Regions from separate parts of the Homo sapiens genome. Here regions 2 and 3 are each linked to region 1. The links are contacts of gene promoters, found by promoter capture Hi-C in human tissues and cell types (Jung and others, 2019). All regions are on one chromosome and are shown on one strand. The core of a region is centred on a gene start or on the middle of the fragment in contact, and the rest is flanking DNA. Distances in the headings are between cores, read along the strand shown. Region 1 holds the start of LOC105376888 (a long non-coding RNA gene). Region 2 holds the start of NR0B2 (nuclear receptor subfamily 0 group B member 2). Region 3 holds the start of GPN2 (GPN-loop GTPase 2).

Region 1 (4,704 bases), core at 1,560-4,059:
GTGAAACCCCGTTTCTACTGAAAATACAAAAAATTAGCTGGGCGTGGTGGCACCCGCCTGTAATCCCAGCCACTCGGGAGGCTAAGGCAGGAGAATCGGTTGAACCGGGGAGGCGGAGGTTGCAGTGAGCTGAGATGTCGCCACTGCACTCCAGCCTGGGCAACAAAGGGAGACTCCGTCTCAAAAAACAAAAAACAAAACAAAACAAAAAAAAGCTTGATAGCCTCTTCATAGTCAATCAAAAGAGAAACTTAACAATTTTGTGCTTGGTACTTATTACACTAAGCTGTTTTTAGATCTGGAAGGCTAAGCACCAACAATATTACCAAGGTAAGGTCACCAATCTTAGCACAGAAGGCTATTGCCCAGGAACAGGAAAAGTCTGTTATCTAGGATTTCCCATGTTAAACCAATGTAGGTTGCTTTTGTTTTGTTTTGTTCTTTAAAACCAACCTAGGGAAATTTCACACATATAAAATGATTATAAGGGAAGTTTTTGAGAGTTGACAAGAAAATCAGAAGGAAAAATCAAACACTGTATTCTAGGTGGAGATTTCTTTCAGCCCTTGCCTGCATAAAGCTTTCTTACACTGCCATTTTACTGAGTTAGGAAAAAGAGTCAGTGGGGAAGTTTCTCACAGCAACTCTGGAATGGATCTGGAATGGAGTCTTTTATTCCAACACAAGTTCTGTAGAAGAGTTGGAAAGAGAAGGAAAAAACAGTGTAAGCACAGACAAAATGGAGGGAGGCAGGCATGCAGTCCTATGAAATAGGATAGGTGGCTAAAAAAGCAAATGTGCTGTCTGTTCTCTGCAAAGCAACCACCTTAAGAGAATCCTCCAGCATGATGATACTGGGTGTTTTTGTATAAGAATCAAAGAAAATCCAAAGAAATCTATTAGGTATAAGACAGGAATTGAGTGGCCCCTAATGAAAAACATTCTGACTAGCTTTAATAGGGTTTAAACCCATCTATCCCTACAGAAAATGCCTATTCCTAAAGATAAAATGGACCAAACAAAAAAGTCAGGCGTGGGAGTGACTACTATAGTCATAGTAGCAGTGTGGCACTCCACTCCAGTGAAATGCGGAACTTACCAATGACACCAAGGGAAAGCTGCCAGGAAAAATCAGACTGAGTTTTGGCACTTTTCCACATTATCACTTTCTTCCCTGAAATTTAACAATATTGAAACTGGATTCAGAAGTCACCAGAGGGGTTGGGGGTAGGGACCAGCAGGTTGGTTCTTATTGGCCTACCCCTCCAAAGAGACTACTAGAGACCTGTATAGAAGTGTGTTGTTGCTCTTCTAGTCTTGCTGTGGGAGGGAGAGAACAGGAGACAATGGAGGAAATAATCCAGCACACTTCATCAAGCCTATCCAACAAGCCATTTAAAAACAATACGGGAGGCCGAGGCTGGCAGATCACTTGAGGTCAGGAGTTCGAGACCAGCCTGGCCAACATAGTGAAACACCGTCTCTACTAAAAGCACAAAAATTAGCTGCGCATGGTGGCAGGCACCTATAATCCCAGCTACTCAGGAGGCTGAGGCAGGAGAAAATCGCTTGAACTCAGGAGGCAGAGGTTGCAGTGAGCCGAGATTGTGCCACTGCACTCCAGCCTGGGCAACAGAATGAGACTCCGTCTCCAAAAAAAAAAAAAAAAAAAAAAGCACGGAAACACACACACACACCTCTATCACAATGTGTATTCATTAATATAACTCATCCGCAAACTACACTCAAGAGCACACAGTGTTGTGCAACATTAGGCACTATTTTTGCCCCAAACACCAAAACCAGGATGGAGATTACACATTTTTACTAGGCCCTTTCGACTTCAGAACAAAGCCCAAGAGCTCATTGAAGTATTTTTCTCCTAATCACTCACAGCTACTTAAAAATATGGATACTCTAATTAGCTGGGCGTGGTGGCGGCCGCCTGTAGTCCTAGCTACTCAGGAGGCTGAGGCTGGAGAATGGCGTGAACCCGGGAGGCAGAGCTTGCAGTGAGCCGAGATCACGCCGCTGCACTCGAGCCTGGGTGACAGAGCGAGACTCCGTCTCAAAAAATTAAATAAATAAATAAATAAATAAAATATGGATACTCTGTCTAACAAAAACCCGAGTTTGTGGCTAACGTGTTTGCCCCTTTAGCCCAGATAAAGTTGGAAGTCCAAAGGGTTTAGAAAAGAGGGATTCTAGTTGACTCCACCACACCTACCTTCCAGTTCTTTATGAAGTAGTAGCCAGTGTTTCCAAGGTGGAATCAAGGAGAGTGGAAGTACCACACAACCTTCGGAAAGAAAATATTCTCTAGGAAAAAGCTTCAAGGTGAAGGAGGTTGCAACCTGATTGGCTACTGAGGGTTTTTAGGAGTCCATCATTATTAGTACAATTTGTCACTGATTGTAGAGAGGGTCGACAGAAACCATTTTATAATCTCAACCAAGTAATGTAGACCAAGACCGCAGTCTCTACCCTAAATACTCACCTTTCATGATGAAGCAACTTTACCCTATGCACTTGTTCATCCTCAGCAATCCTTGAGTTGCACATGCTCTTCTGACCCACTTTCCACCAAAATCGGTCTTCTCCTAAGACTTAGAAATTTTTGTGAGCCTGTTATTCTTTCAACTAGAAATTAACAGTATGATGATTGCTAATAATAACCATTCCAAAGCTGTATTTTAAAACTTCATTAAGTACCTTGTTCCTTGATTTAACTACCTCCTGGAATACTTATTAATGCTATAGAAATTACATTTAGCGCCGGGCACTGTGGCTTACACCTGTAATCTCAGCACTTCGGGAGGCCAAGGCGGGCGGATCACCTGAGGTCAGGAGTTTGAGACCAGCTCAGTCAACATGGTGAAGCCCTGTCTACTAAAAATGGAAAAATTAGCTGGGCGTGGTGGCGGGTGCCTGTAATCCCAGCTGCTTGGGAGGCTGAGGCAGGAGAATTGCTTGAACCCAGGAGGCAGAGGTTGCAGTGAGCTGAGATAGTGCCACTGCACCCGAGGGCAAGACTCTGTCTTGGGTGGGGGGTCGGGGGGGGGGAATTACATTTAGCTACTACTTGGCAGTAGAATTTTATTTTACTTTATTTTATTTATTTTTTGAGACAGGGTCTCACTCTGTTGCCCAGGCTGGAGTTCAGTGGTGTGACCATGGCTTACTGCAGCCTTGACCTCCCTGGACTCAGGTGGTTTTCCTGCTTCAGCCTCCCTAATAGCTGGGACTACAGGCATGTGCCACCACATCCAGGTAATTTTTAAAAATTTTTTCGTAGAGACAGGGTTCGCCATATTGCCCAGGCTGGTCTGAATTCCTGGGCTCAAATGATCCTCCCACCTTGGCCTCCCAAAGTGCTGGGATTACAGGCATGAGCCACTGCACCCAACTGGCAGTAGAAATTTCTGAAATTCCACAATAAAATTCATAGGAGAGCCCTGCAATAGCAGTAGTGCTAGGACTAAATGCAGTGTCAAACAGGAGCAGTCATGCTGTGCCATAACTGTTCACTGACATCACCTTTTGACTGCCTGTGAGTGATTCATATTCTCAGTTATCTGCTAATGTGAAGATTAATTAATTTAGTAGGTTCTTCACCATTGCACACCGTGCTATAGGACCAAGTCTCCCCCTCACCTCCACCACACACATGCACACACATACACACAAACCTCTGGCATCATATTTTTGTGTGTGATGCCAAAATATGAGAAATATTTAACAGGAACAACAGGAGAAACATTTTCTTTTTTTCTGTTTTTTGAAATGGAGTTTCACTCTTGTTGCCCAGGCTGGAGTGCAATGGCCCGATCTTGGATCACGACAACCTCCACTTCCCAGGTTCAAGCGATTCTCCTGCCTCAGCCTCCCAAGTAGCTGGGATTACAGGCATGCGCCACCCCGCCAGGCTAATTTTTGTATTTTTAGTAGAGACGGGGGTTTCTCCATGTTGGTCAGGCTGGTCTCGAACTCCCAACCTCAGGTAATCCACCCGCCTTGGCCTCCCAAAGTGCTGGGATTACAGGCATGAGCCACCATGCCCGACCCAGGAGAAACATTTTCTAAACAACTAAAAATATGCAGGGGACCTGGATAATAAGGGAGGTTTGTTTTCTATTGTGTTTAAGGTTTTTACTTCTGTGTTTTTAACCCCAGAAAACACACACTCGCTCTCTCTCTAAATATATATATATTTTTATATATATATATATGTATGTATACTTTTTTTTTTAGGGATCAGAGACGCTGGCCAGGATTAAGGTTATACCAAACATATTCCACACTGCCATTTTCCAAACTAAATGAAATAGCAAAAACGTGGAGAAGGAATTTACAGGAATGGAGTACTACAAAGACAGATGAAAACTCTACAGAGGTGTTCTTCTTGGAAGTGAGTGGGAGTAGGAGATGAGGAAAGGAAAGTTAAAGGCTTATGCCCTACTCAGTATTCAAAGCAAGGAGCATATAGTTTGAGAGCTAGCTCTACTTTTGAGACAAATGTCTAGACTTTCATTCTAAGTCAGGTTTCCAAATGGCTGTATCCATTCATAAACTGTAATAACCAGGATTTCAAATAGACTCACAAAATCCAGTTATAAGGACTATGTCTGCTTAGAAGCATCAGAGCAGAGGGTCCCCTCCAGTAGAATAGCCATCTCTTCACTATGATATTTTGAAACCAGTTTG
Region 2 (4,704 bases), core at 1,189-3,688, 230 kb before region 1:
TGTGGGGTTTTTTCGTTTTTTTTTAGACAGAGTCTTGCTCTGTCTAGAGCAAGGCAGGAGGGCAGTAACACAGTCATAACTCACTGTAGCCTTGAAGTCCTGGGCTCAAACCATCCTCTTGCCTCAGCCTCTCAAGTAGTTGGGACTACAGATATGCCCCACCACACTGGCTAATTTTTTTTTTTTGGTAGAGATGAGGTCTCACTGTGTTGACCAGGCTGATCTTGAACTCCTGAAGCCTCAAGTGATCCTCCCACCTCAACTTCCCAAAGTGCTGTGATTACAGGCGTGAGCCACCGTAACCGAGTGTGTATTCTATTCTTAAAGAGGGTCCTCCAAATCGTAACCTTCAGGCCCCATAAAACCAATATCCACCTCCAGAAATTCTTGTCACTGTTTTAAAAATGAGGAAACTGAGGCACAGAAAGAGAAAGTGATTTGCCCAAGGTCACTCAGCTAAGTGAAGCAGGATTTGAACCCAGCCAGTCTGACTCCAGAGTCTGCTTCAAGGGGACACTGTGAGAATTCAGTGAGATTTAAAAACATGAAAGGAACTTTATAAATTTAAGGATTAAGACTAATAATCAAATGAAAGAGGTGTGCCTGTTTGTCCACTGGTGCTCAGCTCCACAGAGGAAAGGGGCAGAAAAATCCTCCTACCGTATGCCAGAAACCACTTGGAATTTAACAACCAGGACCTCATTTTGTCCCCATGGCAGCCCTACAGCCAGGCATTATTGTCCCAGGGAGGCTTATCGAGGTTCAAGGATCAACCCAAGTCACATAACCAAAAAGTGATGGATTCTGGAGCAGATGCCAGGGCTAGTGATGCCAGAGCCTCTCTCTCCCCATCCAGGGCACCAGGCTGCCCAACAGCATGCAGCAGAAGGCTTGCCACACTGGACTGGCCAAGGTCCAGGAACATGACACAACCAAGGGCCTCTCCACCTTCTCTCATCCCCTGTGCTCCACCATCTGAGAAAGATGCCCGGGACAGAGGAGCCACGTGGCAGCAGAGCAACACTTCTGCCCAGATCACAAGTGGGCAACGTCTGCAAAGCAGGCAGCAGCAAGGTGGGGGCAGCTAGCCACAAGCTCTGAGAATCTCAGGCTCTGGCTGTGCAATTGGGCCAGTGGGTCCAGGGAAACAAACAAGGACTTTGGAGTCAGGCAAGATCTGGGCTTTGTCTTCCTGGTGGGATGACCTTGGGCAAGTCACTTTAGCTTTTTTAGTCTCATAAAGTAAGAATCTAGCCTTAGGAAGAGGCTGCCAATATTAGAGTGGGAAGTGCCTGACACATAATAAGTGCTTAGAGAATGGCAACCATATATATACATATATATATATATATATGTATGTATGTATGTGTATATATATATACACATATACATATAAATATACATATACATATACATATACATATACATATACATATATATTTTTTTGAGACAGGATCTTGCTCTGTTGCCCAGGCTGGAGAGCAGTGGCATGATCTCAGCTCACTGTAACCTCTGCCTCCCAGTTTCGAGTGATTCTTTTGCCTTAGCCTCTAGAGTAGCTGGGACTACAGGCACATGCCACCATGCCCGGCTAATTTTTGTATTTTTAGTAGAGACGGGATTTTGCCATGTTGGCCAGGCTGGTCTTGAACTCCTGACCTCAAATGATCCCCCTTCCTCAGCCTCCCAAAGTGCTGGGATTACAGGCATGAGCCACCGTGCCCGGCTGGCAACTATCTTTTATTATAATTCTGTGAGTTCTTCTCAGCAGACCTGGCCTTTCAGGAGTGGTAGGAATCAGGCTGGGGATAAGGATTCTGAAGGACCTTATTCCTGCAGGGGGCCCAGAACTGGAATCAGAGGAGGAGGCCTCCTAGATTGGACAGTGGGCAAAGTCCTCCCAGCCCCCAGGGTCCTGGCTCCCTTCCCTGTAGCCTGCTTCTGGCTGACAACAGAAGCAGGGCCCCAAGGTTAGGCAAACAAGCTAGTGATAAGGCACTTCCAGGTTGGGCCTTGCATTCAAGGCCCACCCAGCTCTGGGGCTGGCTTCCTGGCTTAGCAAAAGCCCTAGTCTTTTGTGCACACAAGAGCGGGCACCAATGGGGACACCTGCTGATTGTGCACCTGGGGCCTTGGTGCCCTGGTACAGCCTGAGTTAATGACCTTGTTTATCCACTTGAGTCATCTGATAAGGGGCAGCTGAGTGAGCGGCAGGTGGCCCTGTGCCCTGCACCGGCCACTTCATTGACTGAGGTGATATCAGTGCCACGTGGGGTTCCCAATGCCCCCTCCCCCACCACTTCCCCACCATTCCTGCCAGGGGCAATGTCTGTGTGTTTTTTTCAATGAACATGACTTCTGGAGTCAAGGTTGTTGGGCCATTCCCCCCGTTCCACTCACTGGGAATATAAATAGCACCCACAGCGCAGAACACAGAGCCAGAGAGCTGGAAGTGAGAGCAGATCCCTAACCATGAGCACCAGCCAACCAGGGGCCTGCCCATGCCAGGGAGCTGCAAGCCGCCCCGCCATTCTCTACGCACTTCTGAGCTCCAGCCTCAAGGCTGTCCCCCGACCCCGTAGCCGCTGCCTATGTAGGCAGCACCGGCCCGTCCAGCTATGTGCACCTCATCGCACCTGCCGGGAGGCCTTGGATGTTCTGGCCAAGACAGTGGCCTTCCTCAGGAACCTGCCATCCTTCTGGCAGCTGCCTCCCCAGGACCAGCGGCGGCTGCTGCAGGGTTGCTGGGGCCCCCTCTTCCTGCTTGGGTTGGCCCAAGATGCTGTGACCTTTGAGGTGGCTGAGGCCCCGGTGCCCAGCATACTCAAGAAGATTCTGCTGGAGGAGCCCAGCAGCAGTGGAGGCAGTGGCCAACTGCCAGACAGACCCCAGCCCTCCCTGGCTGCGGTGCAGTGGCTTCAATGCTGTCTGGAGTCCTTCTGGAGCCTGGAGCTTAGCCCCAAGGAATATGCCTGCCTGAAAGGGACCATCCTCTTCAACCCCGGTGAGCTCCCAGACACTCCTGGGTGGGGGGCAAGGCTGAAGCAGGGGCCAGCCAGGGAAGGTAGCTTCTAAGGGTTTGATATCTGTTATCTCATTGGGTCCTCATTTTCTTTTTATTTTTCTGAGACAGAGTCTCACTCTGTCACCCAGTCTGGAGTGCAGTGGTGCGATCTTGGCTCACTGCAACCTCTGCCTCCTGGGTTCAAGCAATTTTCTCTGCCTCAGCCTCCCGAGTAGCTGGGATTACAGATGGCCGCCACCACTCCCGGCTAATTTTTGTACTTTTTAGTAGAGATGGGCTTTCACCATGTTGATCAAGCTGGTCTTGAACTCCTAACCCCTCAGGTGATCCACCCACCTTGGCCTCCCAAAGTGCTGGGATTACAGGCGTGAGCCACCGTGCTTGGCCAGTCCTCATTTTCATCAAATAGCCATCTCACAGAAGAGGCACAGAGAAGCTAAGTGACTAGCTAAAGGTAACACAGCCAGGTAGGGACAGACCAGGATGGCAACTCAGGTCTATTCACTCCAGAGACTGGCCCTTGCCACTCTGCCTGAGAAATTTGCTCTGACCTTTACAGAAGGCTGTGGGGAGGTGGGGTGGGCAGACACAGCTGTGTCTCAGTCACATCCTCAAAGGAAGGCTGCATGGTGAAGCTCTAGAGCTAAAACTCCTCTGTGGGTTCAGAAAGATCACATAGAAGAGATGACTGAAAGGGGCGTAGGGAGGACAGGAAAGGAGTCTTTATGGAATTCGGCCAGGAGAGCGGCAGATGGAGACAGTGCTGTTTGTAATCTGGAGAGCATCTGAGATGAGAGTTCCCCAGGAGTCCCTTGTGGCACGCATAAATCGTAGTAATTAATTGTAATAATAGTAGCAAATACTCATATCACACTTACCATATGTTAGGCCCTATTCTAAGGGTTTTACATATACTAGTTCATTTAAATCTCATAAAAGCCTAGGAGACAGGTCCTATTAATATTATTATTCCCGTTTTACAGATAAAGAAACTGAAGCCCAGAGATTAAGTGACTTGCCCAAGGTCACCCAGCTAATAAGTGACAGTGCTGGGATTCATACCCAGGAAGCCTAATTCTTAACCATTACTCCACACTGCCTCTTCATAAATGGATGGATGAATACATTGAAAATTGATAAATAAATTACCTCCTCTAAAGGAGGAGGTAGTAGTGGGACCTCAAAGGCCGAGCAAAGGAGGCAGAGGGGTGTCTCTGATGGCCCAGATCTTGGGCCAGTCTTGTCCTTTGGTGGCTGGGAGTAGGGTGCTCACCAGCCCTCTTCTCCCTCTCTGCCCACAGATGTGCCAGGCCTCCAAGCCGCCTCCCACATTGGGCACCTGCAGCAGGAGGCTCACTGGGTGCTGTGTGAAGTCCTGGAACCCTGGTGCCCAGCAGCCCAAGGCCGCCTGACCCGTGTCCTCCTCACGGCCTCCACCCTCAAGTCCATTCCGACCAGCCTGCTTGGGGACCTCTTCTTTCGCCCTATCATTGGAGATGTTGACATCGCTGGCCTTCTTGGGGACATGCTTTTGCTCAGGTGACCTGTTCCAGCCCAGGCAGAGATCAGGTGGGCAGAGGCTGGCAGTGCTGATTCAGCCTGGCCATCCCCAGAGGTGACCCAATGCTCCTGGAGGGGGCAAGCCTGTATAGACAGCACTTGGCTCCTTAGGAACAGCT
Region 3 (4,704 bases), core at 1,077-3,576, 200 kb before region 1:
TCTCCCATCCCCATTCTCCCTGCTCCCAGCAGGAGCCCCATTTCTTGAGTCTTGTCCCTTCACTCTGCAGGGCATTGGGCGGAAGGTGATGGAGCGGCAGGGCTGGGCTGAGGGCCAGGGCCTGGGCTGCAGGTGCTCAGGGGTGCCTGAGGCCCTGGATAGTGATGGCCAACACCCCAGATGCAAGCGTGGATTGGGGTAAGTGTGACTGAGGGACTTCCCTGGGGGCCCAAGCCTTTCAGCTATGCCCTGGTTTCCCTCTTCCCACTGGTTTTGGCATGGCTGCTGGGTACTCGTGCGGGATGAAATTCAAAACAGTTAAGAGGAAAAAGTGGATCTGGGCCAGGCACGGTGGCTCAAGCCTGTAATCCTAGCGCTTTGGGAGGCTGAAGTGGTAGGATTCCTTGAGCCCAGTTTGAAACCAGCCGGGCAACATATGAGACTGTCTCTGTTAGAAAAATAAAAAGTCCGGGCGTGGTAGCTCACGCCTGTAATCCCAACACTTTGGGAGGCCCAGGTGGGCAGATCATTTGAGGTCAGGAGTTAGAGACCAGCCTGGCCAACATGGTGAAATCCCCGTCTCTACTAAAAATACAAAAATTAGCCGGGCGCAGTGGCTCATGCCTGTAATCCTAGCACTTTGGGAGGCTGAGGCGGGTGGATCACGAGGTCAGGAGTTTCAGACCAGCCTGATCAAGATGGTGAAACCCTGTGTCTACTAAAAATACAAAAAATTAGCTGGGCACGGTAGTGGGTGCCTGTAATCCCAGCTACTCAGGAGGCTGAGGCAGGAAAATCGCTTGAACCCAGGAGGCAGAGGTTGCAGTGAGCCAAGATGGCGCCACTGCACTCTAGCCTGGGTGACAGAGCAAGACTCTGTCACAAAAAAAAAAAATTAGCTGGGCATGGTGGCATGCGCCTGTAGTCCCAGCTACTCTGGAGGCTGAGGCAGGAGAATCGCTTGAACCCAGGAGGTGGAGGTTGCAGTGAGCCGAGATCACGCCATTACAATCCAGCCTGGGTGACATAGTGAGACCCCATCTCAGAAATAAATAAATAAATAAAGTAAATCTGACTTTTTTTTTTTTTTTAAAGAGTAAGCCCTAAGGCTTAACAAGATCATTCATACCCTTTGTTGGAGGAGTTTGGACTTGATGGTTACTATTAGGAAGTCTGTAGTGACAGAATGAAAATTTTATATGAGGCCCCTTCTTGCTGGCACTGTCAATGGATAGATAAGAGGGCTGGAGAACAAAGACCCAGATTTAAAGCCTCTGTCTTTGGACAAACCAGATATGTAGTAACTACTTCCCCGTCCTCTCCCAACCCCTTTAACTGGAGTTTGAGAGCAGCCTTCTCACTGAGAGCCCGTTTTTATCCAGGTACCATGGAGAGAAGCTACAGCCATTTGGGCAACTGAAGAGGCCCCGTAGAAATGGCTTGGGGCTCATCTCCACCATCTATGATGAGCCTCTACCCCAAGACCAGACGGAGTCACTGCTCCGCCGCCAGCCACCCACCAGCATGAAGTTTCGGACAGACATGGCCTTTGTGAGGGGTTCCAGTTGTGCTTCAGACAGCCCCTCATTGCCTGACTGACCGGGTTGGGGGCTTCCTTTCATAGCTACATGATGAAAACCCTCTGCCCTGGCCTCATCTACCACTGAAGCAGAAAGGAGTCTGGGAGCAGCAGTCTTCGTGGCTGGTTCAGGGTGTTTTGTTCCGAGCCTGCCTGCCTGCCGGTTCTATACCTCAGGGGCATTTTTACAAAAAGCCCCCTCCCGTCCCCTCCCCTTGGATATTAGGGGTAACGACCGCTTGTCTTTGGTCTCTAACCCTAATCTCTGGGCTTGCCCTTTGCCTCCTGCAGAACTTTGAAAAGCTGGGTTGAGTGAGGCTATCAGCACAGCCTTCCTTGGGGACTCTGAAGGTGTCCCCACGAAGGCCAGAAAGGGGGAAAGGGACCTGGGCGAGGAGAGGATTTGTGGTGCTTGGAAGAGCCGGCCTTGGGTGGGCCCTCCACCGCCTCTACCCTCACTGGGTGGGACTGCCAGCGGAGAGTCCGCGGGAGGTGGCTTGGGTGTGCGACGTCACGGAAGAATAAAGACGTTTACTACTGGAGCTCCCTTACTTTTCTAATTCGAGTCTGAAGGTTAGAGAAATTCCGAGAGCGATTTTCCCGCAAAGACCCCACATTCGACCCACTACCCGCGAGAGAAATGCGGCTGCGCCGCCCGCCCCTCGGCGTCTAGCTTCGTCCCCGCCGTGAGGGCGGGACTTCCTCTCGTTGGCTCGCCGTTTCCGACGCTGTCCGGAAGTCGAGTTAGTCTAGTTAGTATCGGCCTGTTATCTCCTTTTGCGCGACACGGTCTCAGCTGTTCCGCCTGAGGCGAGTGACGCTGGCCGCCAACGAGGTATACGTACTGGGACCCTCGCCCTCAGTCTCGTCTCCGGCGCGGCTACCTGCCCCGTTTTCCCTGTGAGTTGACCTGCTCCGGGCCGCGGGCCGCCAATGGCAGGGGCCGCTCCGACCACGGCCTTCGGGCAGGCGGTGATCGGCCCGCCGGGCTCAGGGAAGACCACGTACTGCCTGGGCATGAGTGAGTTCCTGCGCGCGCTGGGCCGGCGCGTGGCGGTGGTGAACCTGGACCCGGCCAACGAGGGGCTGCCGTACGAGTGTGCCGTGGACGTGGGCGAGCTGGTGGGGCTGGGCGACGTGATGGACGCGCTGCGCCTGGGGCCCAACGGCGGCCTGCTCTACTGCATGGAGTACCTGGAAGCCAACCTGGACTGGCTGCGTGCCAAGCTCGACCCCCTCCGCGGCCACTACTTCCTCTTCGACTGCCCAGGCCAGGTGGAGCTCTGCACGCATCACGGCGCCTTGCGCAGCATCTTCTCCCAAATGGCGCAGTGGGACCTCAGGGTGCGTCTCAGGGCGGGGAGGCCCATTTTGCGGATGGAGTAACTGAGACAGGGAGGACAGACGCCACGCCCCCATGTCACACAGGGAGGTAGGGGCTGGGTCGCTTTGGAGTAAAACAGGCATGAGTTCAGAATCTGGCTCTGCTACTGACTGGCTGTGTGGTGTTGATAAGTCAGTTCATCACTCTGAACCTCAGTTTCCTCACGTGTAAAATGTGTTAGTAGCCAACTTGGCGATTTTGGAAGTATGGAAGGGGTTAATGTCGAAAGTGGCATGGAGATTGTTGTAAATTGGTGGGCAAAAGTAAATGAAAGAGTGGAGTCAGATGCCATGGGATTTAAACCCCTTGCCCACTGGGAGGCTCAGTGCAAGACCTCTTGTAAGAAAAAAAAAATGACTCCTATTTCCTGGGAGAAGGAAACCAGGGTGGTTATTAGAAAGAAACAGAGGCAGGAGACTAATGGGGAAAGCTTCCCCTCTGTCCTCAAGCCCTCATTCTCATGAGGGAATGCTGATCCCTGTTTCTCCAGGCCACTCTCACCCTGTCTATTCCCTCCCAGCTGACTGCCGTCCACCTCGTGGATTCTCACTACTGCACAGACCCTGCCAAGTTCATTTCAGTACTGTGTACCTCCCTGGCCACCATGCTGCACGTGGAACTGCCCCACATCAACCTCCTTTCCAAGATGGACCTCATTGAGCATTATGGGAAGCTGGGTAAGAGCTTCTGTTCCAGGCGAAGAGCAGGGCAGCAGCTGGGCTAGAATGAAGCAGACATCTCAGCTGAAGGTAGCTGCCTCTGGTGCCTTGCGTGGTCTGGTGATAGTAGCCACAGGCAGGTTCTAACTCCTGCCCATTTATTTTGTGCCACTCTGTGCTAGTTACCGTTGTAGATTTTGGAGACAAGAGAGCTACAGATGGTGTTAGGTGTTACAAAGGAATTAAAGTGATACGACAGTGAATATTTGGGAGTGAAGTGAGTGAGCTTTGGAGTAAAACAGGCATGAGTTTAAATTCTGGATCTGCCACTGAATCATCGTGTGGTCTGGGTAAGTCAGTTCATCTCTCTGGACCTCAGTTTCTCACTTCTGCTCTGAAGCAGTGGCATCTGAGCTGAGACATGAATGGTGAGAAGGAGCCAGCCAAGGGAGGACTGTTCTATGCAGAGGCACTAGTAGGAATAAAGGCCTTGTCTTAGTCAGTTTGTGCTGCCATCACAAAAATACCATAGACCAGATGGCTTAGCCAATAAATATTTATTTCTCACAGTTCTGGAGGCTGGTAAGTCCAAGATCAAGACACAAGCCGATCTGGTGTCTGGTGAGAGTCTGCTTCCTGGCTCCTAGACAGCCTCCTTCTGTCCTCACAGAAGGAGGCTATATTCTCACCTGGCACAGAGACAGAGAAGGGGTGGGAGGCCAGGGACAAAATAGGGAAGATTGAGGTAGAAGCAGGCTGGTATGAGGCAGGGGAGTTGGCTAGAGTCCCAGTGGCCAGCTTTTTTTTCTTGATAAATTAGTACTCTCGGCTGGGCGTGGTGGCTCACGCCTGTAATCCCAGCACTTTGGGAGGCCGAGGTGGGCAGATCACCTGAGGTCAGGAGTTCGAGACCAGCTTGACCAACATGGAGAAACCACATCTCTACTAAAAATACAAAAAAGTAGCCAGGCATGGTGGTGCATGCCTGTAATCCCAGCTACTCGGGAGGCTGAGGCAGGAGAATCGCTTGAACCTGGAAGGCGGAGGTTGTAGTGAGCCGAGATCTCGCCATTGCACTCCAG

The links. Contacts are between HindIII fragments. The study calls those that stand out against the background at their distance.
Region 2: the fragment with the promoter of NR0B2 here is called in contact with a fragment that was not itself captured in region 1 in 1 of the 25 tissues and cell types used here (stomach).
Region 3: a contact is called between the fragment with the promoter of GPN2 here and a fragment that was not itself captured in region 1, in 4 of the 25 tissues and cell types used here (dorsolateral prefrontal cortex, hippocampus, mesenchymal stem cells and 1 more).

Annotation. Positions count from the first base shown.
Region 1 is chr1:26,686,761-26,691,464 of GRCh38, reverse strand. It overlaps LOC105376888 (a long non-coding RNA gene), which reads right to left and starts at 2,283. Exons shown (of 3, transcript XR_001737950.2): 1 at 2,228-2,283; 2 at 1,100-1,174; 3 at 653-689. The HindIII fragment of the contact is 5,506 bases long and covers 57-4,704 here.
Region 2 is chr1:26,911,709-26,916,412 of GRCh38, reverse strand. NR0B2 (nuclear receptor subfamily 0 group B member 2) reads left to right here and starts at 2,438. Exons shown (of 2, transcript NM_021969.3): 1 at 2,438-3,004; 2 at 4,327-4,704. The coding sequence starts at 2,473. The coding sequence ends at 4,568. It also overlaps a transcript of NUDC not described here. RefSeq lists an enhancer at 471-971. The HindIII fragment of the contact is 33,061 bases long and covers 1-4,704 here.
Region 3 is chr1:26,887,905-26,892,608 of GRCh38, reverse strand. It overlaps GPN2 (GPN-loop GTPase 2), which reads left to right and starts at 2,326. Exons shown (of 5, transcript NM_018066.4): 1 at 2,326-2,923; 2 at 3,484-3,640. The coding sequence starts at 2,513. It overlaps GPATCH3 (G-patch domain containing 3), which reads left to right. Exons shown (of 7, transcript NM_022078.3): 6 at 71-198; 7 at 1,383-2,121. The coding sequence ends at 1,599. RefSeq lists enhancers at 1,983-2,252, 2,763-2,932, 2,288-3,165. The HindIII fragment of the contact is 5,015 bases long and covers 33-4,704 here.